2 separate regions of the Homo sapiens genome follow, and region 2 is linked to region 1. Evidence: promoter capture Hi-C in 16 types of primary human blood cells and fetal thymus (Javierre and others, 2016). All regions are on one chromosome and are shown on one strand. Each heading gives the region's core, a stretch centred on a gene start or on the middle of the fragment in contact. The rest is flanking DNA. Distances are from core to core; before and after follow the strand shown. Region 1 holds the start of MOB1B (MOB kinase activator 1B). Region 2 holds the start of RUFY3 (RUN and FYVE domain containing 3).

Region 1 (6,876 bases), core at 1,952-4,451:
CTGTTGGTACAGAAATAGTATTCAGATAGCCAGGTGTAATGGCTCACACCTGTAACCTCAGCATCTTGGAAGGCAAAGATGAGTGGATTGTTTGAGCCCAGGAGACCAGCCTGGGCAACATGGCAAAACCCTGACTCTACCGAAAAAAAAAAAATTAGCTAGGCATAGTGGAGCATACCTGTAGTACCAGCTACTTGTAGCGGGGAGGGGGTTTGAGATGAAAGGATCACCTGAGCCTGGGAAGTCAAAGCTACAGTTAGCTGTGGTCATGCCACTGCACTCCATCCTGGTCGACAGAGTGAGATCCTGTCTCCAAAAAAAAAAAAAGAAACAGTATTCAGACAGTTATACCAAATAACAAATAGAAGAAATAACCAAAGCTTTGTTCTTTCACTTCCAATAATAATCATTTCCATGTGGTGTTCACTTTGGATTTTTAATTGACGGTAGACAAAGACCAAAACTGAAAATGTTGAATTAACTTTTCTGATTGTCAAGCACATGGGCTAAATATGTTGAGAATATATCAACTGCTAGATAGATATAACCTAACTGAAAAATTGTGCCCCAAATAGTGCAAATGCTCTAAAGTTCTATATACATTAGTTACAGCAAGATTTCTTTTGTAGTTACTAACCTTCAGGAGAAACAAACTAATCCACCACAAATCTGAATCTATTAAATACTGAGCCATGTAAAAATAGGATTCTACTGTATTTGTATTCAAAAAATAGCATCAGAAACTTCTCCATCCCCTAGTTTCAGCCAAATATGGCTCTTCCCTGCTTTAACCTTTTTTTTTTTTTTTTTTGAGACAGAGTCTCACTCTGCCACCCAGGCTGGAGTGCAGTGGCGCGATCTCGTCTCACTTCAACCTCTACCTCCCGGGTTCAAGTGATACTCCCGTCTCAGCCTCCCAAGTAGCTGGGACTACAGGTGCGTGCCACCTTGCCCAGCTAATTTTTGTATTTTTAGTAGAGACGGGGTTTCACCATATTGGCCAGGCTGATCTCGAACTCCTGACCTGGTGATCTGCCTGTCTTGGCCTCCCAAAGTGCTGGGATTACAGGCATGAGCCACCGCGACTGGCCTTGCTTTAACCAATTTAGCTTACTAGACACAAGCCCATCAGCAGTAGTCATGGATATCATCTACAGTGCTATTTTGAATACAGCTTCTAAATTCTTGAAAACAATCAAACATTAGCAATGTAAAATTAAGCTCAAGATGAGAAGCTTCAAGTTGAGATACCTGAATATGGTGATTAGAACTAAAACAAGAAACTGCCCAGGCACGGTGGGCTCACGTCTGTAATCCCAGCACTTTGGGAGATCAAGGCAGGCAGATCACTTGAAATCAGGAGTTCGAGACCAGCCTGGCCAACATGGTGAAACCCCCATCTCTATTAAAAATACAAAAATTAGCCAGGCGTGGTGGCGCGGGCCTGTAGTCCCAGCTACTCAGGAGGCTGAGGCAGGAGAATCGCTTGAACCCGGGAGGCAGAGGTTGCAGTGAGCCGAGATCACGCCACTACACACTCCAGCCTGGTGACAGAGCGGAGACTCCGTCTCAAAAAAAAAAAAAAAAAAAAAAAAGAACTAAAATAAGAAACAAGGACTTTTTTATAAAATCACCCAGTCCTGTCATCTAGCCCTATGCCAATCCGACAAACTCAGAATCAACTTCTAGGAGGAGCCTAAGAAATCCCTTTCCGTTTAAAGGTTTTAGGCAAGTTGACACAAGCCAGGTCCCCTATGCATATTGGAAATATCAAGTCTGCCCCTAGGTCAGCCTTGTTCAGTTTTGCTTAAACACCCTAAAAAAAAAAATTCTAGATGTGAGCATGTGAAAATAAGAGTGAATTAAATTCTCAGTATTCAGACGTCAATGTAATGACTAAAAATTATTAGGCAAGGAAAGAAGAGAAATCTTAAGAAAATATCCTTTAAATGCTAATTTCTCCACAACAGTAAAACAGTATATGGGTGAGTTTCAACTTCTAAGTTTTTTATTAGTTTTCTAAACACAGACTAAACATGGAATGAGTGCATCACAACGAAGCCTTCAAAGGAGTTATTCCTCAGGCTGTAACCCCTGTTTTCAGAGGACCTGAGGCTTATCTACTGCCTCCATATCCACATCTGGCCATCCCATCCTTCTGCCCTTCCCCCTCCACGTTCCCCTCCACTCGTCTGGAACAAACGATAAGTAAGTGAAATAATGACCAGCACTAAACATGACGCCAAAGTTGGCATTTACAAATGATTTTCAAAACAACTCCCCAGTGGACCTAATCAACCTAGGCAGGGCACACTATCCAAAACCTATTTGCTGGTTGTCTAAAAAGATAAAACTCATCCTCTTCAGGGAAGTCCTCTGGGAGGAAGGGCGCCTCTAGGAAGCAAGGGGGCGGCTCCAGACCCCTTTCTCAGGGACCCCCGTCTGTGTCCAAGGGATCCCGACCCGCAAGTAGCCTTGTTTCAGTGTTACATCTACAGAACTTGTCATCCCAACTTCCCAGCCCTAAGACGAGAGAGGAAGTTAAAAGGGTCCTGGGATGACAGGGGAAAGTACGACAGTCTTATCTTCTGTGCTTGGGACCCAGAAAAGAGCAATGGGCAGCCGCGACGGAGCCATTCAACCGAGCACCGCTTGGATACGGATTGTGCAGGCGAGTGGGAGATACCCACGAGAAGCGCACAAACAAGCCCGGGAATGCGAGCGAAGGCAGAGACGGGGGTGATGAAGGAATCCAGGCGCTGGCCCCGGGGTGTGCCGGGGGGGAAGAACCTCCTCAGGGCTGCAGGAGCCCACGAGTACTCGAAGCCCTATGGGGAGGCGGCGGTTAGGTAGTCCGAGCGCTCCGCGCAGTCCCGGGGCCCCGCTTGGTGGTGACGCCGGGCCCCGGGAGCGCTGGGCCAGGAGGGTCGGGACGAGGGCGGGCGACGGGCGGCGGGCGGCGGGCGGGGGCCCAGGTCCACCCGAACAAAGCCGGCGCGTGCGGGGCCTGGCTACTCACAACAAGAAGCTCATGTTGGCCGCGGGGCAGGCTGCAGGCTCGGCGGTCGCGAGGCCTCGGAGCGGCGTGGGCCAGGAAAGAAGAGGAAAGGCGAATGGAACAGGAGACAGGGAGGCGGAGGAGGAGGTGCCGAGAGCCGGCTGCTCGGTGGCCGCAACTAGTTCGGCTCAGCTAGTTCCAATGGCAGGGGGAGGGGGCGGAAGTGGGTAGCGCTCGTCTTGAATCACTCCAGGGGAGGGGAAGGAAAGGGAGGCGGGGCAGGCTCTCCGCGAGCCCCTCCCCAGCTCCCCGCCGCCCCCACCTCACGAGCTCTCGCGATAGCGGTGCAAGCCCACCCCGGCCCTCCGGCTGCGGCATGGGGACTCTCACCTTCTGGTCTCCTCTGCTGCTAGGGACGACGCCCAGCGTGTGCGCCGCGGCTGCCCGGCCCCCCTGTCCACCCGGTTAGGAGTCATGGCAGAGCTCTCGGAGCCGCTCAGCTGGGCTCCAGAGGTCAGGGAGGAAGTGGGCTTCAGCTCGGGGATGTCAAGGTCCCGCAGTGAGGGATGGAATTACCACCGGAGTTAGGCCCACCGTGAGTGTCCGGCCAAGGGCGGTGAAAGGTAATGGCATCTCTCAGTTCACCACGGAACCCAGCATGATAGGGTGGTCATCGGTGTAACCACTTAGGGGGCCAAAGCTTGTAAGCATTCTAATGCACAGAACATCCTAGAAGCTAGAAGCTATTCAGACCCACTTACAAAGGGACTTTTATTCTCACAGGGTTATGGGGCCCAGGGCAAGCCTTTATATTCTGTTTAAGAATCCTTCACATACCTTGAATATGTCACCACAGCATTACCAATTTAGGAGGGAAATACGGGTATCGAAGAGATGTCCGTCTTCTTTACTCACAACACCCATCAAATCTACAAGTTTTCAAAGAGAATCTGAGCAAAACAAATCATGTGCAGATATTAGCTCACCTTTGGCTTATCCCAAAGGGCAGAATACACTTTGAAGTAGGTGCAGATATGAAATGTATTATACTGCATATATGCACTATTATTTGGCACGTTGGTAAAGTGGTAAAAAAAAAAAAAAAAAAAAAAAAAAAAAAAAAAAAAAACGTTTTAGGCCGGGCGCAGTGGCTCATGCCTGTAATCCCAGCACTCTGGGAGGCCGAGGTGGGTGGATCACCTGAGGTCAGGAGTTCAAGACCAGCCAAAGTTCAAGACCATGGCCAAACCCCGTCTCTACTAAAAATACAAAAATTAGCCGGGCATGGTGGCACACACTTGTAATCCCAGCTACTCGGGAGGCTGAGGCAGGAGAATTGCTCCAACCCAGGAAGCAGAGGTTGCAGTGAGCCAAGATCATGCCACTACACTCCAGCCTGGGTGACAGAGTTAGACTCCGTCTCAAAAAAAAAATTTTTTAATAGAAGAAAATACTAGAATCTTGCACTATCTCAGGAACAGCAGAGGTTACTGGAATGAGAAAACTTACAGACTCAAAAGATTACCAGATCAGGATAAATAGCTAATGCATGCAGAGCTTAATACCTAGGTGATAAGTTGATAGGTTCAGCACACCACCATGGCACACACGTTTACCTATGTAACAAACCTGCACGTCCTGCACATGTATCCTGGAACTTCAAATTAAATTAAAAATTTTTTAAAAGATTCCCCAAAAAGAAGAAAGAGGAGGATTTATCTGAATGAAAATAATAGATTTATGGTATAAAACCCTGTGCTCCAAATATTGATATGGTACTGACTTACTGTATAATTCTTTTTTTTTTTTTTTTTTTTGAGACGGAGTCTCACTCTGTCACCCAGGCTGGAGTCCAGTGGTGCAACTTCTGGACTAGGCTCACTGCAACTTCTGCCTCCTGGGTTCAAACAATTCTGCCTCAGCCTCCTAAGTAGCTGGGATTACAGGCCTGTGCCACCACACCTGGCTAATTTTTGAATTTTTAGTAGAGACGGGGTTTTACTATGTTGGCCAGGCTGGTCTCAAACTCCTGACCTCGTGATCTGCCTGCCTTGGCCTCCCAATATGCTGGAATTACAGGCGTGAGCCACCACGCCCAGCCCTGTATGATTCTTGTAAGGGTCTTCTGAAAGTAAGACTTGCATTACCAGATTACTGATTATCTTTGGAAAGAGTGAGTTGACCTGTCATAGCCTCAGTTTTAGCCCATTTAAAATGGGAGCCTTCTATCATTACATGATCTCTAAAATATCTTCCAGTTCTAAAGTTCTCTCCTGCCAGGGGCATCCTTCAAATGACTGGCACACATTTCCAAACTGCTCCCTGATTTGGCTTAGGTAGCCTTAGTTTTGGTCTGACATAATTTAGATGTATCCTGTGACACTGAATAAGGGAAAACTGGCAGAGGAAAGAATCTGCAAAAATACCTTCTGAGTATTTCTTTATCATACCACTAGGAGAGTTGCCTGGAATTAACATCCAATAAAACGTAAATATACTGGTCCTAAATGTGAGGGAGGTGTCAGGTTAATAATATACAATATGATTCCAGGTTAGACTTTAAATCAAATGATGTCTGTCATATAAAATTATTCAGCATATCAAAAACATTGGGAATTTCAGAATCAAAGAGAGTTTATATTCAAATAGATATTTATAATTATCATCTCTTCTGACCAAAATCTAATAACCTTTTGTTTATGAAGCAAGATTATTAAAATTTTTGTTCTATCCAACTTTTCAAAGAATTGAAATTATACTGTAACATGTACAGAATAGAACAGAACATGAGTGGGCATATGCTCTTTAAATATTCATTTGAATAAAGACACATGCACATGTTTGTTTATTGCAGCACTATTTACCGTAGCGAAGACTTGGAACCAACCCAAATGCCCATCAACGAGAGACTGGATAAAGAAAATGTGGCACATATACACCATGGAATACTATGCAACCATAAAAAAGAATTAGTTCATGTCCTTTGCAGGGACATGGATGAAGCTGGAAACCATAATTCTTAGCAAACTAACACAGGAACAGAAAGCAAACACCACATGTTCTCACTCACAAGTGGGAGTTGAACAATGAGAACACATGGACGCAGGGAGGGGAACATCACACATCAGGGCCTGTCGGGGGGTGGGGGGCAAGGGGAAGGAAAGCATTAGGACAAACATCTAATGCATGTGGGGCTTAAAACTTAGATGACAGGTTGATAGGTGCAGCAAACCACCATGGGGGTTGATAGGTACAGCAAACCACCATGGCACATGTATACCTGTGTAACAAACCTGCACTTTCTGCACATGTATCCCAGAACTTAAAGTAAAATTAAAAAAAAAGAGGGAAATGTGTGTGTGTGTGTATGTATATGTATATATATTCATTTGAGGCCTGATGCCATGGCTCACACCTATAATCCCAGCACTTTGGGAGGCCGAGATCGGAGGATTACTTGAAAGCAGGAGTTTGAGATCAGCCTAGTCAACATAGTAAAACCCCCCATCTCTATGAAAAAATAAAAAAAAAAGAATAAATATATTCTAAGTGTATTTTGGCATGCTACACAATCACACTTAACAAAGCTAACAATTCAACCTGACCCTTATCAGTGCTCCTTAGATTTTAATTCTATTTCTTGCTTCATTAAAGACTAGCCAATGTACAATTTTAAGTGCTTCTCAAGGACAGATTAATTTGAATAATAGAATAGAATGGCACACACTTGTAATCCCAGCACTTTAGGAGGCAGAGGCGGGCGGATCTCTTGAGGTCAGGAGTTGGAGACCAGCCTGGCCAACATGGTAAAACCCCATCTCTACTAAAAGTACAAAAGTAGCCAGGCGTGGTGGCACGCCCTGTAATCCCAACTATTC
Region 2 (6,605 bases), core at 3,525-6,024, 180 kb after region 1:
TGGAAAAGTATAAATCTGATTAATGCTTCTGTGGGGCGGGTAGAAGGCTCAACTGAAAGAGTAATGGGCGGGGCACGGTGGCTCACGCCTGTAATCCCAGCACTCTGGGAAGCTGAGGCGGGCGATCACCTGAGGTCGGGAGTTCGAGACCAGCCTGACCAACATGGAGAAACCCTGTCTCTGCTAAAAATACAAAATTAGCTGGGCGTGGTGGCGCATGCCTGTAATCCCAGCTACTTGGGGAGTCTGGAGAGTCTGAGTTAAGGAGAATTGCTTGAACCTGGGAGGTGGAGGTTGCAGTGAACTGAGATAGCGCCATTGCACTCCAGCCTGGGCAATAAGAGCGAAACTGTCTCAAAAAAAAGAAAAAAAAGAGTGATGGTAGTGCTTTTGTTAGTCACAATCTATTAAGCATCAACAACTCAAATGTTCTCTTCCTTCTATATTCCCTACTGGTAAAGGGAACCTAGCTTCTGCAGCCAGAAGTTGGAGAGTCATCCCAGGCACTGCCTTATGTTCATTCTCCAGCCACCCAGCCCCTCAGTCATCGGGTACATTCTGCTTTTCCAGGGATTGTTCCTTTGGTGTTCACTCTTGCTACCTTAATGTGAGATTGTCATCTCTTACCCAGACCATTTTAAAAGTTATAGTTAGGGGTCCCTGAGAGCTTATATCCTTCTGATCCATTCACTACACTGTTGCCAGAGTGATCATTCCAAACACAAATCTTATTTTATGTTACTCCCAGACATAAAGCACCAGTAGCTTTTCACTACAGAATCAAGTGCAGGCTTTTCAGTATGAATAAGATTTCTACAGTCAAGCCCCTGCTTATCTTTCCAGTCTTGCTCCCTGTTGTGCCAAACAGAAGCCCTCTGTGCTCCTGTTGCTATTCCCTGGCTGGGCCAGCTCACTGTGTACTGTTTGAAATGCCCTCCCTATGTCGGTCTGGTGATCACCTGTTTATCTCTTAAGGTCTCACTTAATGAAGCCTCTCCTGACCCTTCTCCTGTGGAGTCAATCACAGGCTCTTGCCTTTAGGGGAAATCTATTTGCAATTAAACTTGTTGTAGATTTGCTGTTGGCTTTTGAAAATAAGAGTATATAAGCCGGGCATGGTGGCTCACACCTGTAATCCCAGCACTTTGGGAGGTCAAGGAGGGTGTATCACCTGAGGTTGGGAGTTCGAGACCAGCCTGATCAACATGCAAAAACCCCGTCTCTACTAAAAATACAAAAATTAGCTGGGTGTGGTGGCGCATGCCTGTAATCCCAGCTATTTGGGAGGCTGAGGCAGGAGAATCGCTTGAACCCGGTAGGCAGAGTTTTCAGTGAGCCAAGATTGCGCCATTGCACTCCAGCCTGGGCAATAAGAACAAAACTCTGTCTCAAAAAAAAAAAAAAGAGTATATAAGACAAAAGAGAGATAATCCCTCATTGACCACCAATAAGCATTGAGATAATGAAGTGAATGCTTTTATTTTCATTTATTTAAGGGTTAAAGTAGGCAGAAACTCTAGGTCCAGGCCTATACTGCGGACTGCTCAGTGAAGGGCCAGGAACTCTGGTTTTAAGAAAATAAAATATGGAAGCCACAGAGCCTCTATTGCTGAGTACACACAGTCAGTCTACATCATTTTAAGAGGGAACATTATGCTGTTTGCCTATTTTCTTTTGTGGGAGTGAGGAGACTTCACTCTAGGATTTGGGTGGTCAGATGTTTTTCCCTCTGTGAATCAGCCCGGAAAGCAGTCTGAATACTCCCGCGTCCAGACATCAGGAGTTCCATTTTGTGAACAAGGTGAGATTCACATAATCATGGGCCTGGTGACCACCACTTAAATGCTTATAGCTAAATTAAATCTAATAACTATCAGTGGTATTAACATAAAAGTGGGTATTTCTTGGGACCAAATGACTGTTTAAATATCCAGAGTTTGGTAATGGAGCAAGGCAGTAATACTCACAGGCTTTCATGGGACTATGCTTTCTTTATTTTCATTTCTAGTAATTTAAAATAATAGCTTTCTTGCCCAATTTAAGGCAAAATTCTAAAATGCACTGTCGGCATTTCTCTATTTTCTTCCAAATCCTCTATAGTTGATTACAGGTCTTGGAAACTCTGTATTTATCTGATTTCTTTAATCAGCAGACATACAATTTATTACTTAGATTATAGCTCTCACACATTTTCCATACTGAGAAATGTGTTGCTACAGATTTCTCTATGAAGAATTCAAATGGCGCTGCTAAAAACGCTTACATGAACCAAACAGCTCACTTTTGCTTATCCATAGGAATCCTGCTCCAAAAACATATATTTGAGGTGTTAAAATTGTTAAAAATTATTTTTGAGACACTGGTAAACTAGATTTCATGATAAAGGGAATATTTCATATTGTATAACTCTCAAATTGGACGGGAATACATTTTTTTCAAACAAAATATGTAAACTGAGGCAGTTGCCAGAAGACTTCTTGGTAGCCTTCTAAAACTGTATTTTTCTTCCCTAAAGACTTTTAAAGCTTTGGAGGCTGTTTTAAGTAGTACTGGAATTGTTGGATGTAACGATGTTTTGATGAAAATATAGAATAAAATAATAATAAAAAATAAATAGTACTGGCATTGCATGGAATTTCAGCTGATGTCTTATAACTTGTGCACATAACGAAACATACAGCCAAAGAAAGCTGTCTAATTAACAAACCAATTGTTAAAAGATGCAAAGGGTCTTAAAAACCACTTAAACATTGTTCTTAAAGACACACCCAAAATGACTGCTTTGTGTTCTGTGTTATTAACCATCCCTAAAACTTTCTCAAGGCTAAGGCTGACTGGGAAGATAAAATGCTTATCAAACACAATGGGAAAATTCTGAGTCATGATAAGATTTCAACTCAAGGTCAAAGGCAGAGAATCACCTTTCCTAACCCCATCTGCTAGGTACAATTCACCTATGGTCTTCTTTGTCCTGTCGATGTGCCTAACTATCAGGCAGATGTTTATAAAGAATTTCTCCTCATATGCAAGCGTTTTTTGTTTTTTTTCATCAGTATAAGGACAGAGAATAAACCTTAGCTAAGAAGCAACTGTATTAAAAACAAAACGATTTGTAGCTATGATTCAAATCAGCTCTCTTTCTGTGGTATTAAGAGAATTAAAGGGTAGAAGCAGAAAACCTCTCATAAATTAGCAAGAGTCCTGGAAAAAAGTCGCAAGTCAAGAGACCACAAAGATCTCAGAGGTACTGACAGTGGAAATCTCAAATGGATCATAATAGTTACCACAAATAATTTATAAAAAGCAATGGCCAATAGATTCCAATATTACCATTCTATTGTAATCTATAGGGATGCCATATTAATCATATTTAACCTTTCCAGGCATTATGCTTTCTTAGGAGTCCATATTCAATAAATAAATGCTGAAAAGTTATTTTCTCATCTAACCTAATAATCCATATTGTTAAAAAAATGTTTTATCAAACATTTCCTAGATGTCATAACTTGCTTAAAATTGTATCCTCATATAATGGTGAGGATACCATTACCAAATACCCTGGTGTTTCTACTGTATTCATCATGTACAATCCTATAATTATAGTCATGTTGTCTTAACTTAGTGTTATAAATCACTACAATTTCTATAACATTTTCATATATGAACAAAATTAATAGCTTTCTCATTATTGAATAGAATCAGATGTGATAAGTGACCTCAAATGTTTTATTTAGAGGCTTAAAGACAAAGAACTCTAAACGAGTATCCAGCATCTTTTGAAAGGATACCTAAAGGGGCAAGAAAAAAAATTATCTTTCCCCCATGAGCAAGAGAAGGGGAGCTGGGTGGTAAGTAAGGATGCAAGGTTTTCAGGACTGTTAACAGTTGAGAGTGTAGGTTCTTTCTACCTCTCCCTGATCCTCCCAGCCCTCCCCCATAACAATGAGGATGCTGGTGAAATACTAGCGGACAGGATCTGACCATACCTTCATGGGTAGGCTCTGGGTCAGGTGTAAGTGAGATGTCATCCAGCTCTCGCAGGCAGAGCCATTCTCCATCCATGGACACTCGGAATTTGCAAAGGTAGATGGTCTCCATGGCAGCCTGTGTGATCTTGTCAGTGGTGGGGGTTGGCATATCGGTCGGAGGCGTCAGAGCAGACATGATGACTCAGCTGGGACCACAACACACACACAGACACACACACACTCACACACACACACCAAAAAAATAAATACAACCTCCTCACCAAAAAAACCCAATACAAAGCTCTGAAACAAAGCTTTCAGGAAAAGGGTGGGGGAGGTTTAAAAAAAAAAAAAAGGAAAAATACCTTATAGGTTAAGAACAAACTGCTCAAGATAAACAATTCTACACTATCTTATAGACAGTTCCTACCACATAGCAAAATAAGATGATGCTTGTCTTCTCCCAGCTTCCTCTCCTTTTATCTTCCCTTCCCTGCCCCCCACCTTTTTTTTCAGCTGAGCTATAGGCTTTAAATCCCGCACAGCTGATGCTGCCTTAGCTGGCTTTAAAAATCTGGCCTCGATATGAGTAAGTGAAAAATCCTCCTCCTTTGTGCAGAAAAAAAATATAAAAGAAAAACCTGAACAAAAAATAAACCTATATTTTCAATGTAGCTTAAAAAAAAAATCCTGAGCTGCAGAAATCACTTCCAGGATCTGCTCAGATGAGCTGGGATGCTGAGTTCTCATAGGATTGGCCGTGCGCAGTAAGCAGGGTGTTGACCAAAATGGCTGACTAATGAACTGAACTGAAAATTCAGGCTCATGTGACCAGCTGCTCTGAACGTAGGGCAAGCAATTCCCAGGATGCTTTATAGATGCTGCTGATGCTGGGAGAGCAATTAGGCTTCTCTCTCTCATCCTGTACAACCCACTTCCAGACTGTGCTAGTCAAACTGTGATCAGACATAACACAATGCACATATCCTCATCAATTCTTCTTACTTTGGGATCAAGGACTGAATAAAAGGATGACAATTAATACCGGATAATAATCTATAGTAAAGATGGTAAAAGAGGCAGTTAGATTAATTTAACAAGCATATAATTCACCTCTTTCATTCTTATCTACATAGCTATTAAAATTCTTTACTATGCTAAATGTTATGTTTTAAGAAAAGCTAAAGCATAAAAAATTGAGGTTCTCAGAGGGAAAAAAAACAAAAAGATAAAAAGAAAAGCTAAAGTAGATTTTCAATTTAAATATCTTATTCTTGGGCATTTATAATTTCCTTCTCCAAGGTACAAAAACCTGACCTTTTAGGTTAGGCAGAAATGCAAAAAAAAAACTTCAAGTTAAAAAAGTAAAATCTTTCCCAATTAATGGCAATTTCCCCCCTTTTTGATTTTGTTGTATTTATCAAGTTTCTGTATTAAGCATAAAATACGTTTCTTTTTTTTTCTTTTTTCTTTTTTGAGACAGAGTCTTGCTCTGTAGCCCAGGCTGGAGTGCAGTGGCGTGATCTCAGCTCCCAGGTCCAAGCAATTCTCTGCCTCAGCCTCCCGAGTAGCTGGGATTACAGGCACCCACCACCACGCCCAGCTAATTTTTGTATTTTTAGTAGAGACGGGGTTTCACCATCTTGGCCAGGCTGGTCTTGAACTTCTGACCTCATGATCCTCCCACCTCAGCCTCCCAAAGTGCTGGGATTACAGGCGTGAGCCACCATGCCCAGCCTTAAGCATGAAATATGTTTCTAAGCAGATTAAACCATGTTATATTTTTAAAATCCTCCCATTCGATAAGATACTGAAGACAATTATATTTTCTTAATACACACACACACACACACACACACACACACACACACACACACACACGGCCCTATATTATCCAATGAGGCATTTATACCTTGGTAGCAAAAGGGCAGGTACTTGCTTTATGAACTACATAAATTACAAAGAGAAGAATAAGAATTTTCTTTGAAAATGTTTTGGACAATTGAAAGAAAGTGTTTGTTTGTTTTTGTATTGAAGGGTTCCAATTTTAAGGAGGAACATACAAATTCAAGAAATATGACCTGAGACTATTCCTTTCTAGGGATTGTTATCAGAGGGACATCTTGATTTACCTAATTTCTGAAAACTAAAAAAATTCTCCTTGAATATTGTTAAAATCTCAAATGCTTCATCATAATTTGAGACTGAACTGAAAGAAAAAAATGCTAATAATCAAATTCTGTAGAGAAACTGGCATTTTCATATTGTTACGAAGACAGGGCGGATGGCTGGGCGCGGTGGCTCATGCCTATAATACCAGCACTTTGGGAGGCCAAGGCGGGCAAATCACCTGAGGTCAGGAGTTCGAGACCAGCCTGGCCAACATGGTGAAACCTCATCTCTACTAAAAATACAAAAATTAGTCAGATGTGGTGGCATGTGCCTGTAATCCCAGCACTTTGGGAGGCTGAGGCAGGTGAATGGCTTGAGCTCAGGAGTTTGAAACCAGCCTGGGCAACATGGCAAAACTCCATCTCTACAAAAACAAAAATTAGCAAGGTATGGTTGCGCGCACATGTGGTCCTAGCTACTTGGGAGACTGAGGTGGAAGAATCACGTGAGGCCAGGAGGCAGAGG

Evidence for each region. Contacts are between HindIII fragments. The CHiCAGO score rates a contact against its expected background, and 5 or more counts as called.
Region 2: the fragment with the promoter of RUFY3 here is called in contact with the fragment with the promoter of MOB1B in region 1 in 1 of 17 cell types (fetal thymus); the score reaches 5.7 in fetal thymus.

Annotation. Positions count from the first base shown.
Region 1 is chr4:70,898,694-70,905,569 of GRCh38, reverse strand. MOB1B (MOB kinase activator 1B) reads right to left here and starts at 3,201. Exons shown (of 6, transcript NM_173468.4): 1 at 3,020-3,201. The coding sequence starts at 3,033. It overlaps LOC124900711 (a long non-coding RNA gene), which reads left to right and starts at 3,339. Exons shown (of 2, transcript XR_007058132.1): 1 at 3,339-3,621; 2 at 5,853-6,350. RefSeq lists silencers at 2,872-2,921, 3,232-3,381. The HindIII fragment of the contact is 2,463 bases long and covers 1,238-3,700 here.
Region 2 is chr4:70,720,133-70,726,737 of GRCh38, reverse strand. It overlaps RUFY3 (RUN and FYVE domain containing 3), which reads right to left and starts at 4,774. Exons shown (of 18, transcript NM_001037442.4): 1 at 3,987-4,774. The coding sequence starts at 4,164. The HindIII fragment of the contact is 24,519 bases long and covers 4,285-6,605 here.